Regions from separate parts of the Homo sapiens genome. Here all the other regions are linked to region 2. The links are contacts of gene promoters, found by promoter capture Hi-C in blood cells and fetal thymus (Javierre and others, 2016). All regions are on one chromosome and are shown on one strand. Each heading gives the region's core, a stretch centred on a gene start or on the middle of the fragment in contact. The rest is flanking DNA. Distances are from core to core; before and after follow the strand shown. Region 1 has its middle 2.8 kb from the start of GCK. Region 2 holds the start of AEBP1 (AE binding protein 1). Region 3 overlaps YKT6 (YKT6 vesicular SNARE protein).

Region 1 (4,379 bases), core at 558-3,057, 87 kb after region 2:
GTTGACACTGTCAGAACAGAGGCCCACAGGGACTGGCTCCTCCTCTGGCCCTGCTCAGGAAGCTTCAGCCTGGGATGCCACCCACTCTCCCCTTCGCAGCCCAAGTGCCCCTGGAGAGGTTGCCCTGTGCAGTGGGGAGTCCCAGTGAGTGGATGGAGCAGGGGGCCAGGGTGCTGGAGCCAACTCAGCTGCGGGCTCAGTCAATAGTCTGGAACAAAACATACTTCTGCCTAAGTCACTGAGGTCTGGTGTGTTTTTCCCACTCGTGGCCCTTCTCAGTCAGGATCGGCCACTTTTCAAGTGTCCAGCGTGACTGGTGGCTACCATATTGGGTAGTGTCGGTATAGACCAAAGAGGGCTCAGGACCCAGCTCCAGGCCACCTACGCTCAGAGGTCCAGCAGAGGGGGTGAGGAGGAGTGGCCAGTGCGATCTCTCCAGACAGATGTGCTGTAACACTTTAAAATCAACTTCCTATTGACGGTCATTGAGGCAGTTTCAGATTTTCACTATTACGAAGCAGGCTGTGGCAGAAGTCCTTGAATTTCACCGGAGTCTAAGTGTGTGTCAGTGTTTCTTCTGGATGGCTCCTGGAGGCTGAATTGCTAGTTCAAATGCTGTACACATTTTACATCTTGGTAGGCAGGACCACGTGGCCTCTTCACATGGCTTCACCAGTTTCTTCTGCCAACACGAGAAGTTTGGCTTTATCTTGGCCAATCCTTCAGATGATAAATCTTTATGAGTTTTTTGCCGATCTGTCACCTCATTGTTGCTTGAATTGCAAAATGCTGGACACCTTTTCATGTGTTTCTTGGTGATTGCATTTCTTCTTCTAAGGATGATTTGTTTACATTACTTAACTATGTTGCTATTGGATTATCTTCTGCCTATGGACTTGGAGAAACTATTTTATATTTCATCTGTAGTATCTATTAATCCTTTGTCTGTTAAATATACTATGATATCTCCCCTAGTCTATTGCTAAACTTAACAACTTGATTAATCGTGTCTTTCATCATACAGAAGTATCTAGTTTTTATGAATTTCAACCTTTGTTTTCTTGTTTTGGGGTTTTTATATCTTGTTAAGAAAACCGTTTCCAATCCCCAAATTGCAAAAATGTTCTCCCACATTTCCTTCTAATATTTTTCCAAGTTTTCTATTTGTTCAGTACTTTAGTCTTTCTGCAATTGCTTGTGCTGCGTGCACCGCCATTATGAGGGCACACCTCACATCCTCGCCTTTCTTCTCATTCCTCTTTTCTGCTCTCCCGGGTCCTGGGAGATGGTGGTTTGGGTATGGTGCAAGGGAATCTCTAATATGGCTATTTGGTGGTGAAGCAATCCCTTCCCCACTGCTCTGGAATGTTGGCTTTCTTATAAATCTTAGCACTACTCATCCCACTTCGGAAAATAATGCTGTTGACAATTTCATTGGAAATACATTGACTTTGTGGGTTTAGGGATTCATTTTAGAGAACTAACCTCTTTATAATATTGAGTTTTCTCATCTAGAAGTATGTGTTGTTTCATTTATTTTGGTCTTCTTTTATGTCCTTCAGGTGAATTTTATTATTTTTCTCATATATATCTTACACATTTCTTGTTATATTTATTCCTAAAGAAAGGCAATACATTTATTAGGAGAAGGAGCAATTGTCATTATAACTAATATTGATGAAAACATTTATGATTCACAAAGTACTTTTGCATTCATTCTGTCATCTAATCAGACAATCTTAGTGTGGCAGGCAGTGGTATTATTATTATTATTTTATTTTTATTTTTTTGAGACAGAATCTCGTTCTATCACCCAGGCTGGAGTGCAGTGGCTCGATCTCCACTCAATGGAACCTCTGCCTCCCAGGCTCAAACAATTTTCATGCCTCAGACCCACGAGTAGCTGGGACCACACACGTGTGCCACTGCACCTGGCTAATTTTTTGTACTTTCTTTTTAGTAGATATGGGGTTTCACCATGTTGACCAGGCTGGTCTCAACTCCAGACCTCAGGTTCCGCCTACCTCTTCCTCCCAAAGTGCTGGGATTACAGTAGAGTGGGGAGGGAGCGGCTGAAGCCAAAGTGTGGAATGTCTGGCCACCACACCTGGTCAGTGGTAGTATTATTACCACCACTTTCCAACTGAGGTCGCTGAGGCTGGGGAGGTTAAAGGATTGGCAGGGACGGTCTCCCCAATTTAATGTCTCCCTAAGGGTTCCTTACCATAGCTTCCTGCTAAGGACAGGGGCCAAGGTAGTCCCTCACACAGAGGTCCCAGGTTCTGCCACATGGCCCTGCCCTCCCTGGACACAGCTGATGAAACATCACCTGATCCAAGAGCAGCCACACTGCACACTGGCCACAGCCTAGTGTAGCCAAGCATTAAATCAGCTTTAAAAATGCATTTTAAGGCTTTTTCTTTAGTCTTAAAATGTAACCTTGAAATGTACTTTGAAACTCTGCTTCTCTCCCTTTCCCACTAGACACTCCTTTGCACCATGCCCGCTTATCTAACTCTATGCTTATTTGGGAATTCCAGGGGCTAATCTTGAAACAAAAACCAGACACGGAACCCCTGCGGAATCCTCCAACTTAGGGGGAGTCGAAACAATTCACCCACCACCATCTGGCCGAAGGAAAGATAACACCAACCAGACCTCAGGATAGGTGATACTCAAGACAGCCATTGGATCAAGACACATAGACCCTGTACCCTGCACTGCTCCCACGTATGTCCCATACCAAGTTTTCCTTTCAGAATCCTATGATAAATTTTAAAATTTGAGATAATTGAATGCTTTAAAACAACAATTCACCATCTTCTTGGTTTGCTGGCTCTAGTTAAAACCACTTTTCCTCCCACCAAACCTCTCCTCTTGTATTTGGCTTTCAAGCGGTGGAATCCGAGTCCGGTTACAATGGGGGACATTTACCCAACAGGGACTGCTTGAAACAATGAGCAGTTTAGTTGGGGACCGCAGAGTTGCAGAATCTCTGAACCATTCAATGCTCCCAAACGAAAGTCCTCTGTCCTCCTCCCTGGGGTGGGGTGGATGGGGCATTCCTGGCTGATGAATTGGGGAGCAGGTGGGGAGAGAGCTGCCCTCCCCAGGTATAGCTTCTTCAGGATGCCCCTTGCCTTTCTGGCCCCATCCCTCCAGACACTGGACACTTCTGCTTCAGCCCCTCCCTCCCCGTCTGCTGGTCCCTGTCCCTCAGCCTGTTGCCTCCTAACTTGACAACTGCTCCCCTCTCTCCCCCGCCACCCTTGGTAGCATCTCTCATTTGCGCCACCTTGCAATTGGTCTCCCCCTGCCCTTTGTCTTGTGTCATTATAGTGGAGCATATTTGGGAGGTGGTTCACATAAACATATGTATTTAATCATCCATGTTAACCCAAAGTTTGTATGTATCCAGCTCGGGGTTCCTTGATCCTCTCCAATCTGTGCCAGTTACTTTGCTTCTCTTTTCTTAAGAGTCGAAGAAAGTCCTGGGCTTTGCTCTGATTGGATGGCCTACTGATGGCCAGCTGAGTGGCCTGTTGATTGGCTGAAGCTTGCATCAGGTGCCTATCCAAAGACCAATCGCTGTGGCAATAAGGACCACTGGTTGATAGGCTGGGGCCTGGGGCCCCATGTGGCAGGGTGTGGGATCAGCCTCTAGTTCATGATGGTTTCCCTGTGAGTACTTTCCCTGTGTGCTCATTGCTGTTGTTTATTAGGTTGTGTTTGGTGTGCCCAGCCTTTCCAAGGGCACACCTTGTGTTCTTGGCCTTCCTCTGCATCCTTCTTTCTGCTCTCATGTGGGGCCTACAGCCCCGAGGATGTGGGAGGTGCACGCCTGGTTGTGGAGCAGGGGACTCCTCTGCAGGCCTTTCCACCTGCCCCTCTTTGACAGCTCTGTAGACTTCCTCTCGCTTTTTGTACGGGGCAACCCCACGACTATCAGGGTACCATTGACAGGACAAGCCACTTGCCTAAATGACCATGTGTCCTAATTCTAAGTTCCTGGCATTCATCCAGTATGGCTACTGATAACTGATATGGTTTGGATATGTGTCCCCACCAAATCTCATCTGAATTGTAATCCCCAATATTGGAGGTGGGGCCTGGTGGGAGGTGTCTGAGTCATGGGGGTGGATCCCTCATGAATGGCTTGGGCCATCCCCTTGGTGATGAGTCAGCTCTTGCTCTGAGTTCACACGAGATCTGGTTGTTTAAAAGTGTGGCACCTCCCAGTGCCTCTCTCTCTCTCACTCCTGCTTCCACTGTGTGATGTGCCTGCTTCCCCTTTGCCTTCCGCCATGACTGTAAGTTTCCTGAGGCCTCCTCAAAGGCTGAGCAGATGCCAGCACCATGCCTCTTGCAAAGCCAGCAGA
Region 2 (4,275 bases), core at 679-3,178:
TGTTCCCAGGGAAGTGACGTGCCACGCTGCTTCACCCCAGCCTTGGGCCGCCGGGCTTGACATGCTCAACTGGGGCAACGGAGCAAATTCCCAGAACAAGTTTTGAGAAAGATGATTCAGAGCTTTGCAGAGGATGAGGAAAGGGGAGAGCTTGCGGATCCTTGCTGCCACCAGGACTGGCCTGGGGGCACGTGGCAGGCAGAGGCAGGCTCAGGTGCACAGGGAGCCTGGGTGTTGGGGCTCAGGGTCTGCTCTGAGCGCCCCAGTGGGCACAGCTCAGGTTGATCTCTGAGGGCAAATGATGAGAGCTAAAAGGCAGCAGTGTGAGTGCCAAGAATGTGTGCTAGGCACAGCACATGCATGATCCTGTATGAACGACAAGGAGAACAGGGACACAGGTGGACGGCACTGAGGCTACCTGCCGAGATGTGGTGCCTGGGAGGTAGAGCCAGAACCTGACACAGTCCCACTGCTTTTTCAAGGAGATGCAGTGAGAAAGCAAAGGCAGGGTCTTGGCAGGACCAGGTGTGAGAGGAGGCAAGGCCTCCTTGTGGTCCTGCTCCCAGGGGGTGGCATGTATCCCAGGCCCAGCAGCCTCCACTGTGGCCTCCCCGGCTGCTGCCTGCTCCAACTCACTCGGGGCTGCTCTGGGGACCCAGGTGCTTCCTGACCCACTTTTCCTCTTTCCTTTTGACCCCAGGTCCAAACTCTGCCCTGTCAATCATCCCAGGGGCTCCTAGGCTTCCCTACCTGACTACTTCACTGGGGCCAAACCCCGCAGACAATCGTGGCTTAGGGCTGTCTGCCTCTGCACTTGGCCCATGGACTACCTGTGAGCTTTCTCTTGTGTCCTCATTCCTTTAAGGGGGAATGTCCTCGGAGCTCTGTCCTTAGCTCCCCATTCCTCCAGTATGAGACAGGGACTAGGCTTGAGTCACGGGGGACTGTGCTGTGTCACGCCCTGCCATACTAATGGGACCACTCTGCCTGTTGATGGCCGTTGTAGGGCAGCCAACATTTGCCCTGGAGAAGCCTTATGGCAAACACCAGGCACCAAGGTGCACATCCCTGATGGATCCTGGGATCAGTTGACACTCAATCCACCTGCCTTCTGGGTCCTCTGGGCCCTCTGGGTCCATGTGGCAGCTGGAGGTATGGTAGACACTTTTTAAAAAATGAGTTCTGGTAAGAAGAAGGTGATAAATGGCTATTTGTCCACGTTGGGACCCGGAGGGGAGGGATGGCATGCCCTTACATGGGACTCCTACCCCCAGCGGGGCAGCTGGCCACTCTGAGGGCAGTTTTGCACCTGCCTCCTGGCTGGAAAGTGAGTTCCCACTGTGCTGTCCCTCCCTGGGGCCCAGCACGGGGCCCGGCCCCACACCGACCTGAAGAGGTTGGTAGGATGACTGAATGAATTGACGCTGGGATGCAGCAGGGCCCATGGGCAGAGGCTCCAGAGCCTGGGAAGGATGGGGTGGCCTTTCTGTGGCCCTCCGAATTGAGAGAGGTCTCAGAGGCCTGACACCACGGCTTTCCGTCCAGGGTTCCTGGTCACCCGCGGAGGGCTCAGAGCCCCGGTGGACTCGGGGTCCCGCCTTAAGGGGGGTGCCTAGGGCAGAAGGAGGAGGGATGTCGGCCCCCTCAGACCCGCACCCCAGGCCCTCCCCACCACCTTTCCTTCCCTCAGGCCCTCTGTCTTCCCAGTCGCCCCGCCCCCTGCCCCTCTGTCCTAGGCGCAAGTCTCCGGGCTTGGGACGCTCGCCGCCAGCGCCCGCCCGCCTGCCCCGCCCCTAGCCCCCCGCCCCCCGCCCCCCGCCCCCCCGCAGCCCCTCCGTCCACTCTCGGCTCCTCCTTCTCTTCCTCCTCCTCCTCCCCGGGGGTGGGGAGCCGGCTCCGGAAGCCCCGGCGCCCCCGCCCCGGGCCCCGCCAGCGCTTTGGAGACGGCTATCCGCGCGGGAGTGCGCCACGCGGGGCCGGAGCGCCTATTAGCCGCCAGGACCTCGGAGCGCCCCGACCACCCCTGAGCCCCTCTGGCTTCGGAGCCCCCCAGCACCCCTTCCCGGGTCCCCTCGCCCACCCTAATCCACTCTCCCTCCCTTTCCCGGATTCCCTCGCTCACCCCATCCTCTCTCCCGCCCCTTCCTGGATTCCCTCACCCGTCTCGATCCCCTCTCCGCCCTTTCCCAGAGACCCAGAGCCCCTGACCCCCCGCGCCCTCCCCGGAGCCCCCCGCGCGTGCCGCGGCCATGGCGGCCGTGCGCGGGGCGCCCCTGCTCAGCTGCCTCCTGGCGTTGCTGGCCCTGTGCCCTGGAGGGCGCCCGCAGACGGTGCTGACCGACGACGAGATCGAGGAGTTCCTCGAGGGCTTCCTGTCAGAGCTAGAACCTGAGCCCCGGGAGGACGACGTGGAGGCCCCGCCGCCTCCCGAGCCCACCCCGCGGGTCCGAAAAGCCCAGGCGGGGGGCAAGCCAGGGAAGCGGCCAGGGACGGCCGCAGAAGGTAAGAGCCCAGGGCAGGGCGGGGGTGTGGGGGGCTGGCATCTCAGGTGGGAACAGGGGGATTCGGTAGGGTCTGGCCACTCCCCAGTCTGCTAGGGGAGGAATGGCTGGCTTACTAATGCGCACGCGAGCCCAGATGCCTGGAGGGACCCTGTGCTAGGCCGAGGTCAGCGCTGGCGTGGAGGCACATCCAGCACCCGGGCGGCAGGGCCGCTTTTGGGGGCCGGTGGCTCTAGGGTTGGTGCTGTGGTTGTACGGGTCGCTTATCCCCATTCCTCCAGTACGCGACAGGTACTAGGCTTGAGCCACAGGGGACTGTGCTGTGTCACCCCCTGCCATACTAATGGGACCACTCTCCCTGTTGGTGGCACAGCTTCACGTCGTCCCTCCCTCCTGCCTTTGCCCTCCTACTCCAGGAGGTCTCACGTAGGTGAGAGAGTTTCAGGTGGTGGTGAGCACAGGGCTTCAGGTGGTGGTGAGCAATGGGTGGTCCTACATTAGTACAGGAAATTAGATGAGGTGATGCATCACTGAAGCATTTAACCCACGGCCTCTTGCATAATCAGTTGTCAGTAAATCTTAGCTGTTTTCATCGTGGCCCTCTGGAAGGTGGCAGAGGGTCTTGTGATCCCTGTCTCCCAGGAGATTCCAAGGCACCATCCAACATTCCTGATGTCAGCAGCCCCTCCCCTGCCACCCCAGCTCTAGATCTTTCCTGGCTGCTTCCCACACCCTGGGCTGCCTGTGCCCCTCCTGCCTCTGGCTCTCCTTCCAGGCTTGCTCTCCTGGCTCTGGGGCACCGCTCTAGCAGCCCTGCGTCCCCTGGCTGTCTGCATTTGGTAGCTTTCCTGTGTTTCTGCCAAACTTCCCTCATGCTCCCCACCTCTCATCAGGTTCTCAACAGCACTTGCAGCTCCTGCTTAGGGTCCTGGGAGGATTCCCATGGGGAATCCTCACAACCAGTCCCTGCTCCCTCTCCCAGACTCTGAAATGAGTGTGCAGCCACAAGCTCCCTACCTGTCTTTTCTGTCCTCTGTGTGATCCCTGAACCCCCCAGGACTCCCTATCCTTCCAATCAATTCCAAACCCCTTACTTCTCGAAAGGAGACCACTTCCTCTTCTTTGGGCTTCAATACTCAACCAAGTGTCCCTTTTCTTTGAAGCTTTTCTTGCCCCGTAGGAGACCAGGGGAAGGTCTTGGGCCCATGTCCCTTCCTTTGTATGGCAGTTGGCAGGGATGACCAGATGCTCCTCCAGGCCTGGATGGCTCAGTCACCTCTCTGCCCCTTCTGTGCCCAGAACAGAATAGTGGAGGAGTGGATAGTAAGGAACCCCTATTGAGGTTTTGGCAGGTGGGGGGATGAGGGCCTCCCCCTGGGAACTGGGAACCCTACGCTCAGTCTTTAGAGAGGTTGAGATTGGTGGTCACAGCCCCAGACTTGCAGACAGAAAATCTGGGTCCGGATCCCAGTTTGCCACTTGGGCAAATGACTTAACCTCTCAGTTTGCTGATCCGCACTGGGAACTGACAAGAGTCCCTGTGCCCAGGTTCTGGGCATCTAGAGAGGGGCCTCATGGGGGCACAGAGCTGGCTCTGTTCATTTGACACGAGTCTGCATCTTGGACAGTGCCTCCGGAAAAGACCAAAGACAAAGGGAAGAAAGGCAAGAAAGACAAAGGCCCCAAGGTGCCCAAGGAGTCCTTGGAGGGGTCCCCCAGGCCGCCCAAGAAGGGGAAGGAGAAGCCACCCAAGGCCACCAAGAAGCCCAAGGAG
Region 3 (4,344 bases), core at 884-3,383, 100 kb after region 2:
TGTGTGGCCCATTGGGCTGTGCTGCTAAGCCTCTCCACAAGACTTGCCCAGAGCTATTGAGCTTCCGAGTGGCTTCATTTGGCCTAACATTGGATGCTTTGATTTGGGGGGATTAAAAGAAGTCTGAAGCCCTCATGTCAGCATCCATGTGTCTGATCTCTTGTCTCCTTAGACTATCTGTGCCACGTCTACGTCCGGAATGATAGTCTTGCAGGTGTGGTCATTGCTGACAATGAATACCCATCCCGGGTGGCCTTTACCTTGCTGGAGAAGGTGAGTTTTTTATTTGCCTCTCCTGGACTTGGATGATGAATGGGCACATTTATGGACTGGGACAGGGGTTGATGGCAGTCCCTGAGACATAAGGGATGAAATGATGTGTCCAAAGTCAACACATTTTTCAGCCCCCTTCCCTGCAACCCAAGAGACAATTTGGCATCCCTGTATGGGTTTCCTCCCCGGTGCTGTCCCTCATGTGAGCTGGGTCTAGGCCACTGAGTCATAGCATCTATTCTCTGGGATGGGACCCTCGGAGACAGCTGTGCCTTGTGTTCTCGCCCCCTGTGCTTCTGCTCAAGGAGTCTCCCTCTTGAATGCCTTCACTCTCCCCATTGCCTCCTGCAGTTGCTGCATCCCTCTACCTTGATGTCAGTCAGTTGCACCACAGAGCTTAGCACCTAAGCATTCTTTAAATTTTTTTGCGTACGGTGCTAATTACTAATATTAACTCTTTGAAGTCAGAGGCTTCATCCTATACCCCAGAGCACCAAAATACCTCCAAACACATGGAATCTGGTGGTTTCTTAAATCTAGGGGACCTAATTCTCTTTTTTAAAAAATTGCTTTGGAAAATTAGAGGACCAGTGCCCCTTTTTTCTGGAAATCTGTAGTTTAAAATTCAAATACCTTTATTACTCCCCAAGTGAGGTTCATCTCGGGCTGGGCATACTTTTGATTCTCAGAATATTTAGGATATGTTTTAATGATAAAAATTTGGAAAGAACTTTAGCCTAGATTTTCTCTGTTGCCATTATATGTCCCCCTCATTCCTCCTTCCTGGGCTGTGAAGGCCAAGGAGCCTCATTCAGGGTGAGGTGCTCAGGGGTGAAGCCCTGTCATTGAGACCACTGGTGAGTGCACAGTGGGAGGCTTGTTGAGTCTCCTTTGTCTTGCAGGTACTAGATGAATTCTCCAAGCAAGTCGACAGGATAGACTGGCCAGTAGGATCCCCTGCTACAATCCATTACCCAGCCCTGGATGGTCACCTCAGTAGATACCAGGTAGGGTTAAAGGAAGCTTCAGCAGACACCATGTGGCCCAGAATCCATGTGAAACTGAAAAAGCCAACTGCCCTGATAGTTCTGGTCTAATTACTTCTGACAGCTTCTGATGCTGGTGTCCTCTCTCAAGCCTTACTGTTTGGAAAACAGAGAATCTACGTTCAGACCGGGGAACCCAAGCTCTAGGCAGGCTTTGGGTTTCTGTTACATGTTAAACAGGCTGTGGGTTTTTTTTTTTGTTTTTTGTTTTTTGAGTTGGAGTCTCACTCTGTTTCCCAGGCTGGAGTGCAGTGGCGCAATCTCGGCTCACTCAACCTGCACCTCCTGGGTTCAAGCGATTCTCCTGCCTCAGCCTCCCGAGTAGCTGGGATTACAGGCATGTGCCACCACGCCTGGCTAATTTTTGTATTTTTAGTAGAGACGGTTTCACCATGTTGGTCAGGCTGGTCTCGAACTCTTGATCTCTGGTGATCCACCCGCCTCATCCTCCCAAAATGCTGGGATTACAGGCGTGAGCCACTGTGCCCGGCCCAGGCTGTGGTTTTTAACCTGTGAAAGTTTGTCCAGCTTCCTCAGTTTTAGGTTTTGTTTGCAGGTAGCCACTCCAGTCCTGACTTTATTATTTTTCACTCTTTCCTAGAACCCACGAGAAGCTGATCCCATGACTAAAGTGCAGGCCGAACTAGATGAGACCAAAATCATTCTGGTAAGCAGGAAGATGGAGAGCAAGCCCAAGAACTGAGGCGGGGGTGCGATTTCCACTGGCCAGGCATGCACAGATCCATCCTCGTTTTAATATAATAGTAACCACGGCACTCTCCAGCAAGTGGGATTGCCCACCCCTTCCCCCACCCCGGGCATCAGACTGTCTTTCCTATACCCTTCTCTTGGTTAATGGCACCCATTGTTTCTAGGGGACCAAGCTGGGAACCAGTGGAACCCTCAAGTCTCCCTTCCTCATGGCTACTGCCTGTCTGACCATTTACTGGGTTCCTAGGGTTTGGCTTCTGAAGACCTGGATTCCCACCCTGGTGCCTTTGTTAGGGTTTCGGGTGCCTCCACACCCCACAGGTGCCTCCCCTTGCAGCGTTTGCATTGAAGGTGAACAGATTGAAGCACCGTGCACTGACCACAGGGCAGCTTCTGGAATATGGGCCCAGGGTTGTCACATAGGCCCCTTTGAAAAGAGCCAGAACCCTGCATTTTGAGCTGAAATCTCCTGATTTGTAACTGTTGCTTCAACTCTTTTTTTTTAAATTTTTGCATACAAGTGGAATGTAAGCAGCTATCTGTTTTTCTCAGGTTTTTCTCTTACAGCCTTTGCCTCTAAGTGGTCCCCTTGCCTCCTGCTCACCTCCAGTCTGTCCACCAGAGAGTAGTCATTGATCTGCACAACTTAGAACCCTTCAGCAGCTCTCAGATCCGCCCCAGGATAAAGTGCAAACTAACTCACAGTCTCCTGACTGGGCCCTGTTCTCTCTTATACCCTTTCTTGCCCAGCTCACACACAGGCGCCTGAAGGTTGGGCCTTTCTGACCAGATGTCACAGTTTTGTCACTGCTTGTTTACATGTCTCCCTGACCAGCGTATGAGCACTGGGACATCTTTCCATCCTGCTCATGATACAGTGCCTAGTTTATACCATGCTCAGCAGTTGATAGATACCTGGAGTGGATTGAAACCCACATACAAAGCTTTACCATTTACACAGGCATAGCTTTAGTGTGTACATCAGCGTCTCCTGGGGTTGGAGTTGTTGGCCTGCGATGGAGCCTGGGAACCTGCATTTTATAAAAAGCATCCCAGGGGCTTCAAACACAGGTGTGCTGACTGCACTCCAAATAACGTGGCTTTGGAATGAACGATAGATGTGAAAGTCTCATGGTATCTGTGTCTTTTGAAACCTTGTGAGCTTTCTTACCACCTAGGTGGCATTTCTCCGTTTTCTCCTCAAGCCATCTCTTTCTGTTGCTCAAGTCCTAGTCTGAGTACCATGACACCTGGGACACCCGCTGTTTCTCCTCTCCCCACGGTGGGGAGTGGATGAGTCCTATTCACCCAGCCTCATCTAGCTGCAGTTGTAAAATCTAGATGATTGGTGTGCATATCTGAATCAGTTAACTTTCTGTGTTAAAAATTTGAGTCGCTCAGCTGTGTGTAGGGATGAAGGACATTCTTGCTGGCTCCTTGTTCTATGGCGCTTCATGTGTGCATCTAGCTGCTGCAGCAGTGGCCATCTGAGGAGAGAAGCGAGCTGCTGCTTCCTGAGGGCCCTGGCAGCAGAGCTGCTGGCTCTTGTGAGGTCTCCATCTCTAGACCCCTTCCCATGGGGTCAGTGTTTTCATTTCCTAAGTCAGAGTTTGTAGTGATGACATTTAGGACATAGCCCATTTAGAAGGCAGGACATGTTCTGTCATAGTGCTGTCTGGTATATATTTGGGGCATGTGTGTAACTTAGAATTTTCTAGGAGCCATATTTTAAAATGATAAAAGGAAAATAGGTAGAATTTAATTTAATTATATATTTTACTTAACGCAGTATATCCAAATACAATTTTTCCAACATGTAATCGGTATAAAACTTGTTTTTTTTTCAGTATAAAACTTACTAATGAAGCATGTGTGAGTTTGCATCTGAAATCTGGTGTGTCTGTACTCAGAGCGCTGCTCAGTTTGGACTTGCCTCACATCAAGTGCTCAATAGCCATTTCCCACCGCCTTTTGTTTCCTGTGGCTGCTGTCAACAGAAACCCTCAAATATTTGCTTTTAACAGATAGCTCTGTGGGCCTGGCTGGTGTCTTTTGGGGCTCTGAGTGTCTGTCCCAGGCCTCTCTCCAGCCTCTGGTGGCTGCTGGCCATCCTTGGCATTCCTTGGATTAGAGGTGCATCACTTCAGGCTCTGCCTCTGCCGTCACGTGACCTTCTGTGTGTGTGTTTCCGTTTCTTACCAGGACATCAGTCATGGAATTAGATGCCACCCTAATCCAGTATTACCTCTTCCTAACTAGTTACATCTGCCAAGACCCTATTTCTAAATATGGTCACATTCAGAGATTCTGGGGA

The links. The method cuts DNA at HindIII sites, captures the fragments that hold promoters and counts their contacts. A CHiCAGO score of 5 or more calls a contact.
Region 1: a fragment that was not itself captured here is called in contact with the fragment with the promoter of AEBP1 in region 2 in 3 of 17 cell types (endothelial precursors, M1 macrophages and megakaryocytes); the score reaches 7.5 in endothelial precursors.
Region 3: a contact is called between a fragment that was not itself captured here and the fragment with the promoter of AEBP1 in region 2, in 3 of 17 cell types (endothelial precursors, megakaryocytes and M1 macrophages). The highest score is 7.2, in endothelial precursors.

What each region holds. Positions count from the first base shown.
Region 1 is chr7:44,190,029-44,194,407 of GRCh38, forward strand. No RefSeq gene overlaps it. Among named protein-coding and RNA genes, the nearest start is that of GCK, 2.8 kb to the left of the region's middle. The HindIII fragment of the contact is 3,494 bases long and covers 61-3,554 here.
Region 2 is chr7:44,102,417-44,106,691 of GRCh38, forward strand. AEBP1 (AE binding protein 1) reads left to right here and starts at 1,929. Exons shown (of 21, transcript NM_001129.5): 1 at 1,929-2,502; 2 at 4,130-4,275. The coding sequence starts at 2,250. The HindIII fragment of the contact is 6,426 bases long and covers 1-3,662 here.
Region 3 is chr7:44,206,213-44,210,556 of GRCh38, forward strand. It overlaps YKT6 (YKT6 vesicular SNARE protein), which reads left to right. Exons shown (of 7, transcript NM_006555.4): 3 at 173-273; 4 at 1,176-1,280; 5 at 1,921-1,986. Among named protein-coding and RNA genes, the nearest start is that of YKT6, 7.4 kb to the left of the region's middle. The HindIII fragment of the contact is 1,678 bases long and covers 1,295-2,972 here.